Regions from separate parts of the Homo sapiens genome. Here regions 1 and 3 are each linked to region 2. Evidence: promoter capture Hi-C in 16 types of primary human blood cells and fetal thymus (Javierre and others, 2016). All regions are on one chromosome and are shown on one strand. The core of a region is centred on a gene start or on the middle of the fragment in contact, and the rest is flanking DNA. Distances in the headings are between cores, read along the strand shown.

What was found. The method cuts DNA at HindIII sites, captures the fragments that hold promoters and counts their contacts. A CHiCAGO score of 5 or more calls a contact.
Region 1: a fragment that was not itself captured here is called in contact with the fragment with the promoter of CADM4 in region 2 in 3 of 17 cell types (neutrophils, monocytes and total CD4 T cells); the score reaches 7.0 in neutrophils.
Region 3: a fragment that was not itself captured here is called in contact with the fragment with the promoter of CADM4 in region 2 in 1 of 17 cell types (monocytes); the score reaches 5.1 in monocytes.

Annotation. Positions count from the first base shown.
Region 1 is chr19:43,723,593-43,726,769 of GRCh38, forward strand. No RefSeq gene overlaps it. Among named protein-coding and RNA genes, the nearest start is that of IRGC, 9.1 kb to the left of the region's middle. The HindIII fragment of the contact is 6,289 bases long and covers 1-3,177 here.
Region 2 is chr19:43,637,841-43,641,167 of GRCh38, forward strand. It overlaps CADM4 (cell adhesion molecule 4), which reads right to left and starts at 2,010. Exons shown (of 9, transcript NM_145296.2): 1 at 1,887-2,010. The coding sequence starts at 1,950. RefSeq lists a silencer at 1,894-2,033. The HindIII fragment of the contact is 9,580 bases long and covers 1-3,327 here.
Region 3 is chr19:43,760,340-43,763,617 of GRCh38, forward strand. No RefSeq gene overlaps it. Among named protein-coding and RNA genes, the nearest start is that of SMG9, 7.0 kb to the left of the region's middle. The HindIII fragment of the contact is 1,951 bases long and covers 292-2,242 here.

The DNA.
Region 1 (3,177 bases), core at 644-3,143, 86 kb after region 2:
GCTGCAGATCATGGTGTTGTAGGTCTTTGTCTCCTATGATTGTGCTGTGGAAAGATTGTTCTATCAAAATATGATTTCTATCCATTGCTTTATTAATGCCTTTACCTTAGTAAGGCTTTATTAATATTGAAGTATGTCTGTTTTGTTTTTTTTTGTTTTTTTGTTTTTGTTTTGAGACAGTGTCTCCCTCTGGTGCCCAGGCTGGAGTACGGTAGCGGGATCTTGGCTCATTGCAACCTCTGCCTCCCGGTTGAAGTGATCGTCCCGTCTCAGCATCCCGAGTAGCTGGGACTACAGGTGCACACACAACTACACCCAGCTAATTTTTGTGTTTTTGTAGAGACAGGGTTTTGCCATGTTACCCAAGCTGGTCTCGAGCTCCTGGACTCAAGCGATCCCCTTGCTTCAGCCTCCCAAAGTGTTAGGATTTTACGAGTGTGAGCCACTGCACCCAGATGGATATGTCTCCTTTTATCAATTAAGGGTCAAAAGCAGAGGAGGCCAAGTGCATAGGATGGCCTGTGACTATTTCCAAAGGTGAAAGTTTATGAGCCCCAAAGAGAGTGGCCCTTAGATTTAATAATACCAAAGGAGGAACTTAGGTCAAGGAAGGTGTAGATAAATTCTGCCAACTGGGTTTTTTGTTTTTTTGTTTTGAAATGGAGTCTCACTCTATCACCTAGGCTGGAGTGCAGCGGCTTGATCTCAGCTCACTGCAACCTCTGTCCCCTGGGTTTGAGCAATTCTCCTGCCTCAGCCTCCCAAGTAGCTGGGATTATAGGCGTGTACCACCACACCTGGCTAATTTTTGTATTTTTAATAGGGATGGGGTTTCACCATGTTGGCCAGGCTGGTCTTGAACTCCTGATCTCAAGTGATCTGCCTGCCTCAGCCTTCCAAAGTGCTGGGGTTACAGGGGTGAGCTACTGTGCCCGGCCATCCAACTGGGTTTTTATAGTTCCCCTTGTTTGTTCCACTGAGCCAGAAGATTGGGGATTGTAGACAGTGGAAATGCTGAGAAATTGGCCAAACTGAACTCACTTGTTTTATTATATGGCCAGTAAAATGGGCTCCTGATCACGATGTACTTCAAGGGGAGTTCCCTAGGTGGGAATACTTTTTTTCCAGGAGAATTTTGGCCACAGCTGAAGCAGTGGCTTGTCTACCAGGAAAGCCTCTACCCAATAGGAGAATGTGCAAACTGTTACTAGTACATATATATATATATATATATATATACACACACACACACACACACACACACACACACACACACGGAAGTGGGTAGTTGGATAAAATCCATTTGCCAAACCTTGAAGGGCCCATTAGGTAGATTAAAATGTCCAGGATCGGGATGTACACATTTTCCTGAGTTAAACTTACGGCAGGTGGCACAAGTGCCAAATAGGCTTTTTTTTTTTTTTTTGGCAGCTTTTTTTTTTTTTTTTTTTTTTTTTTTTGAGAGAGGGTCTCATTCTGTCACTCAGACTGGAGTGCAATGGCACGATCTCCACTCACTGCAGCCTTGATCTCCTAGGCTCAGGTGACTCTCCCACCTCAGCCTCCCCAGTAGTTGAAACTACTTATTTTGATATTTTTAGTAGAGACACGATTTCCCTATGTTGCCCAGGCTGGTCTCGAACTCCTGGACTCAAGCAATCCGCCCCCTTCGGCCTCCCAGAGTGCTGGGATTACAGGCCCGAGAGCCACTGCACTTGGCCAGTACAGCTTCTTTTAATGTCACTCCCCCTAATATTGTTTCATAAAACAATTTGTAAGTTCCCCAGTGGGTCAGATTATGTACTGTAGTTAAGAATATTGACTTGGAGAGAACTGGTTATCAGGCCTTAAACACAGCTTTTTTTTTTTTTTTTTTTTTTTTTTCAAATCATTGAACTAGCAGTGTGATCTTTCCAATTTTGTTCTTCCGTTTCTGGTGCCCAATTTTGTGCATCTTTGGTAATCATTTTTAGATCACCTTTTGGTGGCTCTTTTAGCTGGGCCTCAAGAGAGATTTGAGGAACCGAACCTTTAACAGCAGCATCCTTTGCGGCATTATCAGCCAAGACTGTTTCCTCTAGCTTCCGCAGAGGTTAACCTTGAATGTCCGGGAGTTTCCATAATAGCCAAGGCAGCTGGCAGCTGGATGGCATCCAGTAAGTCCCGTACATAGGATCCATTTTTAATTTGACCTCCAGTGGACGTGAGTAAACCCCTTCATTTCCATAGCAGTCCAAAATCAGGAGCAACCCCAAAGGCATATCTACTATCTGTATAGAGTAACAGATTGCCCTTTCACGAGGAGGCCAGCAAGGGCAGTGAGTTTAGCTTTTCGTGCAAAAGTAGCCACAGGGGCCAGGCGCAGCAGCTCACACCTGTAATCCCAGCACTTTGGGAGGCCGAGGTAGGCAGATTACTTGAGGTCAGGAGTTCAGGAAGACTGGCCAACATGACGAAACCCTGTCTCTACTAAAAATACAAAAAAATTAGCTGGGCATGGTGGTGGGTGCCTGTAATCCCAGCTACTCGGGAGGCTGAGGCAGGAAAATTGCTTGAATCCAGTGGGCAGAGGTTGCAGTGAGCTGAGATTGCGCCACTGTACTCCAGCTTGGGCAACAGAGCAAGACTCCATCTCAAAAGAAAAAAAAAAAAGTAGCCACAGGTAAGGGGCGGCTTCAGCAACTTCGAAGGAAGTGGTAACTACATATCTTACACAGTTTTTACCATTGTCATCTTTCAGATACGATCCATCTATATCCATAGTTCAGCCAGTTCAGCATTATCTAGCGGAAATTCTTGTAAACATTTTTTAGGGAATCAAAAGATAGTGTCAAACAGTCATGGAGAGCTGTGTGCAGTGGCTCACACCTGTAATCCCAGCACTTTGGGAGGCCAAGGTGGGTGGATCACCTGAGGTCAAGAGTTCGAGACCAGCATGGCCAACATATAGTGAAACCCCATCTCTATTAAAAATACAAAAAATTAGCCAGGGGTGGTGGCGGGCACCTGTAATCCCAGCTACTCGGGAGACTGAGGCTGGAGAATCACTTGAACCCGGGAGGCCAGAGGTTGCAGTGAGCCGAGATTGCGCCACTGCACTCCAGCCTGGGCAACAGAGCTAGACTCCGTCTCAAAAAAAAAAAAAAAACAACCTGTGGGCCTATGCCTGTATTCCCT
Region 2 (3,327 bases), core at 760-3,259:
AGCATGCTAACACCATCACGGTTCTAGAACTTTAAAGGTGTCAAGATTCTAAAGCCTTCTGGATTCTAGAATCCTGTAGATGTCAGCATTCTAAAGTACCATCAGGTTCTTTATTTACTGGATTCATTAGTTCCAGGATTCTATGAGCCTGGTGTTTAGCCTAAAAAATAAAGATAAATTAAAATTGATGGAAATGTCACTGAGGTACCAAAGTTCTCATCTGGGAAATTGTGGCATGTCTGTTGTAAAGAAAGGAGGTAATGATGCAAGTTCTAAAGCAGTCACAGAAGACTAGAGAAGAAAGAAAGACAGTGAGAGGACAGCTTTGCCCCTCATCCTGGCCGAGGTGAGGATGGCTCTGCCTCAAACCCTGGAGTGGGGAACATGTAACCGCACTCAACTTGCCAGAAACCCCTTCACGGTCTGAGCTGGCGTTCCCTTTCATGTCACTGAGTTCAACATCCTCACTTTACAGAAAGAGAAACAGAAGCCTGGAGAGAGGAAGGTGTTTACCATTGGCTGCGATGGCAAATGGCAAGAGCCAAGATTTAAGCCCAGGCCGCCAGCCCCATGCCACCTGGTTATAACTCCTCTCACCAATCTCTGCCGAACACCCAGCCCTCCTGCTTCTGCCTAGCCACCTTCCAATCCTCTGTTCCTTCCAAAAGTGGCCTTATCCACCAGGGAGGGGTGACCCGTGGCAGGTTCAAGACTTACACAGTGTGAGAGTGTGTGTGGGTGACATTTCCTGACCTTGTCCCCATTCTCAGGGTCACCCAACCTCGGGGGTCTCCAGCTTCTCACAGTGTGTGATGAGGGTATGTGGATGGCTCCCTGGATGTCCTGGACAGGGGCTTCTCTGTGAGTCAAGCCTGGGTGTGTGAATGGGTGAGCAGGGTTTGGAGAGGCATTCGCTGAATCCACGTGTGTGCCTACACGCCAAGGTCCCCCATTCTCACTTCCCCACACACATGCACACAGATGTTCCCCTCCAGGGCTCTTTAGAATGCCCTGCCTGACTGAATTCCTCTTCAGGGGCACAGAGGGATAGAGAGAGGGAGGAAGGTAGGATGGGAATGGGAGATCCCGGGATGGAGGCTGTAAGCGTAGAGAGAGGAGGCACAGCAGAAAGACAGGGATGGAGATAGTGGGACAGAGAAGGGGGAAAGAGACAGGTGACAGAAAGGGTTAGAGAAACGAGTGACAGAAAGACAGGGGACAGAGACAAGGGGATGGGGCAGATAGGGGACAGAGAAAAAGGGACAGAAAAACAAGGGTGACAGCGAGACAGAGACAGGGACCAAGAATAGGGGCAGAGAGGGAGGGCAGAAATCCGGGGGAAAGAGAATAGACAGGATGATGGAGGGGACAGAGTGACCCAGGAAAAGGGGACAGAGACCAGGGGACAGAGGTAGGGGACAAAGACAGAATAGATGAGGAACACCGAGGCAAGAAGAGAGGGAGACAGACAGAAGGAGGGACAGGACTTCGAGACTGAGGGATAGAGGACAAGGGTAGGGGGACGAGGAGCCAGACGGGGGGGTTCAGAGACGGGCGGACAGAGGGACGCAGAGACTGGACAGAAGGACAGCGGGACCGGCCTGGGGAGGGCGGACTTGTGTGTGTAGGGGGGTCTCGGGCCCTTTGTCCCCGCCGGGATCCAGCCTGCGCGGGTGGGGGGGCTGCGGCACGGCGGCCGGGCCCCGCGCCCCCTCCCCCGCTCGTCGCTCCCGGCTCCCGGCCCGCGCTGCGCTTTGTCCCGGGGAGGGGGCCCGGCCCGGCCCCGCGCGCATTGTTCGGCCTCTGCGGCCCCGAGGCTGCCGGGCTGTCACCACAGCGCGCCCCCCGCCCCAGCCCGGCCGGCCGACCCCGGCCCCCGACCCTACCTGGCCCCGCCGCGGCCGCCCACAGCAGCAGCAGCGGCCACTGGAAGCGCCGGGCCCGGCCCATGGTGCCGCCGCCGCCGCCGCCGCCGCTCGCTCCCGGCCCGGCACCTGCACCGCCCGCGCCGCCCGCCCCGCCCCCCGCGCCCCGCCCCCTGCCCGCCCGGGGGCGGGGCGCCGAGGCCGGGGCGGGGCCGGGGAGGGGAGGGGGAGACGGAGGAGAGGCCCGGAGACAATCGGGGGGACGGCACGGTGGGGGAACGGTGCGGGGTGCGAAAGCTGGAGAGGAGAGGGGTGAGGAGGGCGGGAAGGGGTGCGCGGGAGGGCGACAGCGGCGTGGGAGCAGGTGGGGGATCTCGGTGAGCGCGGGAAATGGAGGGTGTTGGGTGAGGGTGCTGCGTGCGGGCCCAGGTGCTGCGCGCGAGGGTGCGGAGTTGCTGGCATGCAGGGTGCTTGCGCTGCGCGGAGGGGAGGGTGGCAGGGTGTTGCTGGAGGCTGTGCGAGGGTGGGGGCGCGGGCGTCGTGGGGTGCGGTGTGTGCGAAGGGAGAGCGTGGCCAGCGTGACGGGGGAGCGTAAGGGAGGGAGTGCGACGTGGGAAAGGTGAGTGTGAGAGGCGTGCTGCGGGCAGGTGGGTGTCTGGAGTCTAGCGAGAGGCTGTGAGCTGAGCCACCGGGACAGGGGAGGCTGCAGCTGGAGGTCCGGAGGGTCCGGAGGTCGAGGCAGGTCAAGGATCTCCCAGGGCAGGGCGAGGCTGGGGCTCAGGAGTGGGGTGGGGTCAGTTCCCTCCCTCCCTCTCTCCTGTCCTGACCTGAAAACCCCGTGTTTCCGCGTCATTCTCCGGGAGGGGCCCCCTGAAAGTGAACTAACTGGAAGGAAGCCTGAATCCTGGGTCCCAGGAGGGAGAGGCTCCTGTGAACACCTTCCAAGCCCTGGCGTCCCCTCTCCTCCCTGCTGTCTCCCTGCCCCAGCCTCTCTCCCTCTCTCTGCATGTATTTGCCTCTGCCCTTCCTCTCTCCCCATCTTTGAGGGTGACTCACCCCTCCAGACTTAGGTCCCTTCTCCCTCCTGGGAGTGGGTTTCCCTGAGCCCACTTCTGTGACACCCTGTAGACCTGATGCGGGATCATTACCTATGGGACCCAGAAAGAGTGAGAAACCATGGAAAGAAGGCCTCGACCTCTCTCATGCCCATTTGTCAGGCAAACTGAGGTCCAGAAGTGCCAATTATGAACATCTTTCCTTCCCCCCTCCCCCCTCCCCGCCCAGACGGAGTCTCGCTCTGTTGCCCAGGCTGGAGTGCAGTGGCACGATCTCGACTCACTGCAACCTCTGCCTCCCAGGTTCCAGTGATTCTCCTGCCTCAGCCTCCCGAGTAGCTGAGATTACAGGCGCCCGCCACCATGCCTAGCTAATTTTTATATTTTTAGTAGAGACGGAGTTTTGC
Region 3 (3,278 bases), core at 17-2,516, 120 kb after region 2:
TCTCGGCTCACTGCAAGCTCCGCTTCCTGGGTTCATGCCATTCTCCTGCCTCAGCCTCCCGAGTAGCTGGGACTACAGGTGCCCACCACCACGCCCGGCTAATTTTTTTGTATTTTTAGTAGAGTCGGGGTTTCACCATGTTAGCCAGGATGGTCTCGATCTCCTGACCTCGTGATCCACCCGCCTCAGCCTCCCAAAGTGCTGAGATTACAGGCGTGAGCCACCACGCCCGGCCTAAGACTGAGGCTTTTTACCGGGATGAGGAAAAGTACTTTTGATGGGAAATCAACAAGCTTTGAAATTCTTAACTTTGAGATGCACGTTGGTCATCAAATAAGTGGTTGGAGTTAGGGGAAAAAGCCGGGGTTTGTAGATAAAGACTTTCTGACTTTGCGTCACAGAATTTAGTTTAATTAATTAATTTATTTTGAGACAAAGTCTTGCACTGTCACCCAGGCTGGAATGCAATGGCACGATCTTGGCTCCCTGCAACCTCCACCTCCCGAGCTCAAGCAATCCTCCTGCCTCAGCCTCCCAAGTAGCTGGGACCACATATGCTCTAGCACACCCGGCTAATTTTTTAGAGATGAGGGTTCACTATGCTGCCTAGGCTGGTCTCGAACCCCTGGGTTCAAGCAATCCACCCCATCAGCCTCCCAAAGGCTGGGATTACAGTCACTACAGAGTTTTAAAAATACACACAAAGATGTTATGGTATGAAGAGACTCCCACGTACCCATCGCCCAATATTGACAGACATCTGCATTTTTCTTGTCTTATGTCTTCTATTTTTCCCTCCCACATATAAGCATACTTCCCGCCACCCCCTGGAGTTTTGTTTGTTTTAAGAAAATCACAGATAACCTGTCATTTTGTTAATAACTATACAAGTATGCTAAATTTTGGAGCTGCCTATTTATAGATGATATTTAAAGCTATGATTTGCTGAGATCATCTAGGCTGAGAGGTTGAAGAGAGCAGGGACTAGGCCTGAGCATCCCGCATGTAGAAGCCAGGATCCTGGAGAGGGGCTGAGATGGAGCCAGGAGTGTCAGGAGAGGGGATGACCTGGCGCCATGGGATCAAAGGGTTCCAAAGAGAAGATAATGGACTAAGGAGCAGAGACACGGGGCAGCAGCTGGAGGCAGATGTGGGGTCCACCATGGAAAAGACATGACTTTTGATCCCCCATCTAACTGTGTTATGGAACCTTCTCAGTATCTATCAGGAAAAATGTATAAGTACTTATTTTTCTTTATTTTTATTTATTTTCTTTTTGGGTGACATATAACTTAAGTGTGGTAAAGTATATAAAGGGCACAGATCTTAAGTGTACCAGGTAATGAATTTTCACAAATTTATGCATCCATGTAACCGCTAATCAGAGAACATTTCCAGCACCCAGACGTCTTCCTTGTGCTCTTTCCCTGTCAATTCCCCTGCTCCAGAAGCAACCACCCATCTAATGCCTTTCAAAAACAGGCACAGAGATTCGTTGTGTCTGTTTTTGAACTTCATGCGAATGAAATCTTACAGCATGTCTTCCGTGTGTCTGGCATCTTTAGCTCTTTATGTCTGGCAAAGTCTTTTATGTCATTCTATGTAGCAGGAGTTTAGAACCAACTTTATGGCCGGGCTTGGTGGCTCACATCTGTAATCCCAGCACTTTGGGAGGCGGAGGCAGAGGCAGGCAGAACACGTGAGGCTAGGAGTTCGAGACCAGCCTGGCCAACATAATGAAACCCCATCTCTACTAAAAATACAAAAAATTAGCTGGGCGTGGTGGAGGTGCATACCTGTAATCCCAGCTACACTCGGGAGGCCGAGGCACGAGAATTGCTTGAAGCTGAGAGGCAGAGGTTGCAGTGAGCCGAGATCACGCCACTGCACTCCAGCCTAGGTGACAGAGCGACAGATATTTTGCAGTTTGGTGAATAGTGAACTTTAAGGAAAATGGAGAATCTAAAATGCTTCTGAAAGTTCCAGTGGGATGTTTATAAGATGGGAGAAATTATAGCATGTTTGTGTGCAGATGGGAATGATAGAGGGAAAAGAGACCAGGAGACTTTGGAGCTGTTTTTTGAGGAGGTGTGGACAGGGTGAGGGGGCTAGACTTGACTTGAAGAAGGGCCAGCTCATCCTGGAAAAAGAAAGGAAAGTTTTATCATTTGACACCCCCTCCAAATTATAAAAAGCACTCTCCTGGTTTGTATATGTTAGCAGCTATTCCACACAACATAAAAGCTTAAAGCATGCCTTTGGACTGCCAGTCTGGTGTTGATGATGATGATACAGCTTCCTTTATGGACCATAATAAATAGCTGGGCTGGGCATGGTGGCTCCTGCCTGTAATCCCAGCACTTTGGGAGGCCAAGGTGGGAGGATCTCTTGAGCCCAGGAGTTTGAGACCAGCCTGGGCAACATAGTGAGACCCCCGTCTCTACAACAAAGAACTGAATAAATGTTAGTGATGTTTATTTTTATTCTGAGTGGATGGGGCAAGAAGGAGGGGAGAGCAGCAGGCAGTTTGGGAAGGAAGAGGAGCCTAGTGGCCTGAGCAGCCAGGACAGGGAGGAGAAGGGGAGGCCAGAAGACGGGGAGAGACTGAGCTTGCAGAGTCCCCCGGGTGAGGCTTGTGGGCATACTGACACAATGGAATACTACTGTGTAATGAAAAGGATGAGCAGCATGGCTGAATCTCACCACCACCCTGCAGAGCCCAAGACACAGATACACACCAGGGCGTGCAGCAGGGTTCCTTCCAAAGTTCAAAGTTGAACAAAAGGAATCAAGACAGGTCAGGATGGTGGTTCCTGGGATGAAGGGGGCTGTTGGCTGGGAGGGAAATGAGAGCTTTAGGGGGCTAGACACTTCTAGCTTGATCTGAGTGATGGCTACTCAGGTGAATGTATTTGAAGAAATATATTGAGATTACATTTAAAATTTGTGTACTTTATTGTATGTTAAAATATATGTCAGTTAAAGAAAAAAAGGGGGCAGGCATGGTGGCACACAGCTGTAGTCCCAGCTGCTTGGGAGGCTGAGGCAGGAGGATCACTTGAGTGCAGGAATTCGAGGCTGCAGTGAGCTACGATTGTACCACTGTACTCCAGCCTGGGTGACAGAGCAAGACTCTGTCTCTAAAAAAAAAAGAGCTGGACTCAGAGCTAGACTTTGACAGGAGGGCAGTGGGAGGAATGGGAAGTGTGTGGGTGTTAGAAAGGTCCTCAAGGGCAGTTGGGGGATTTATGAAGGGGAAAGGCCCGTGACTGGCTGTA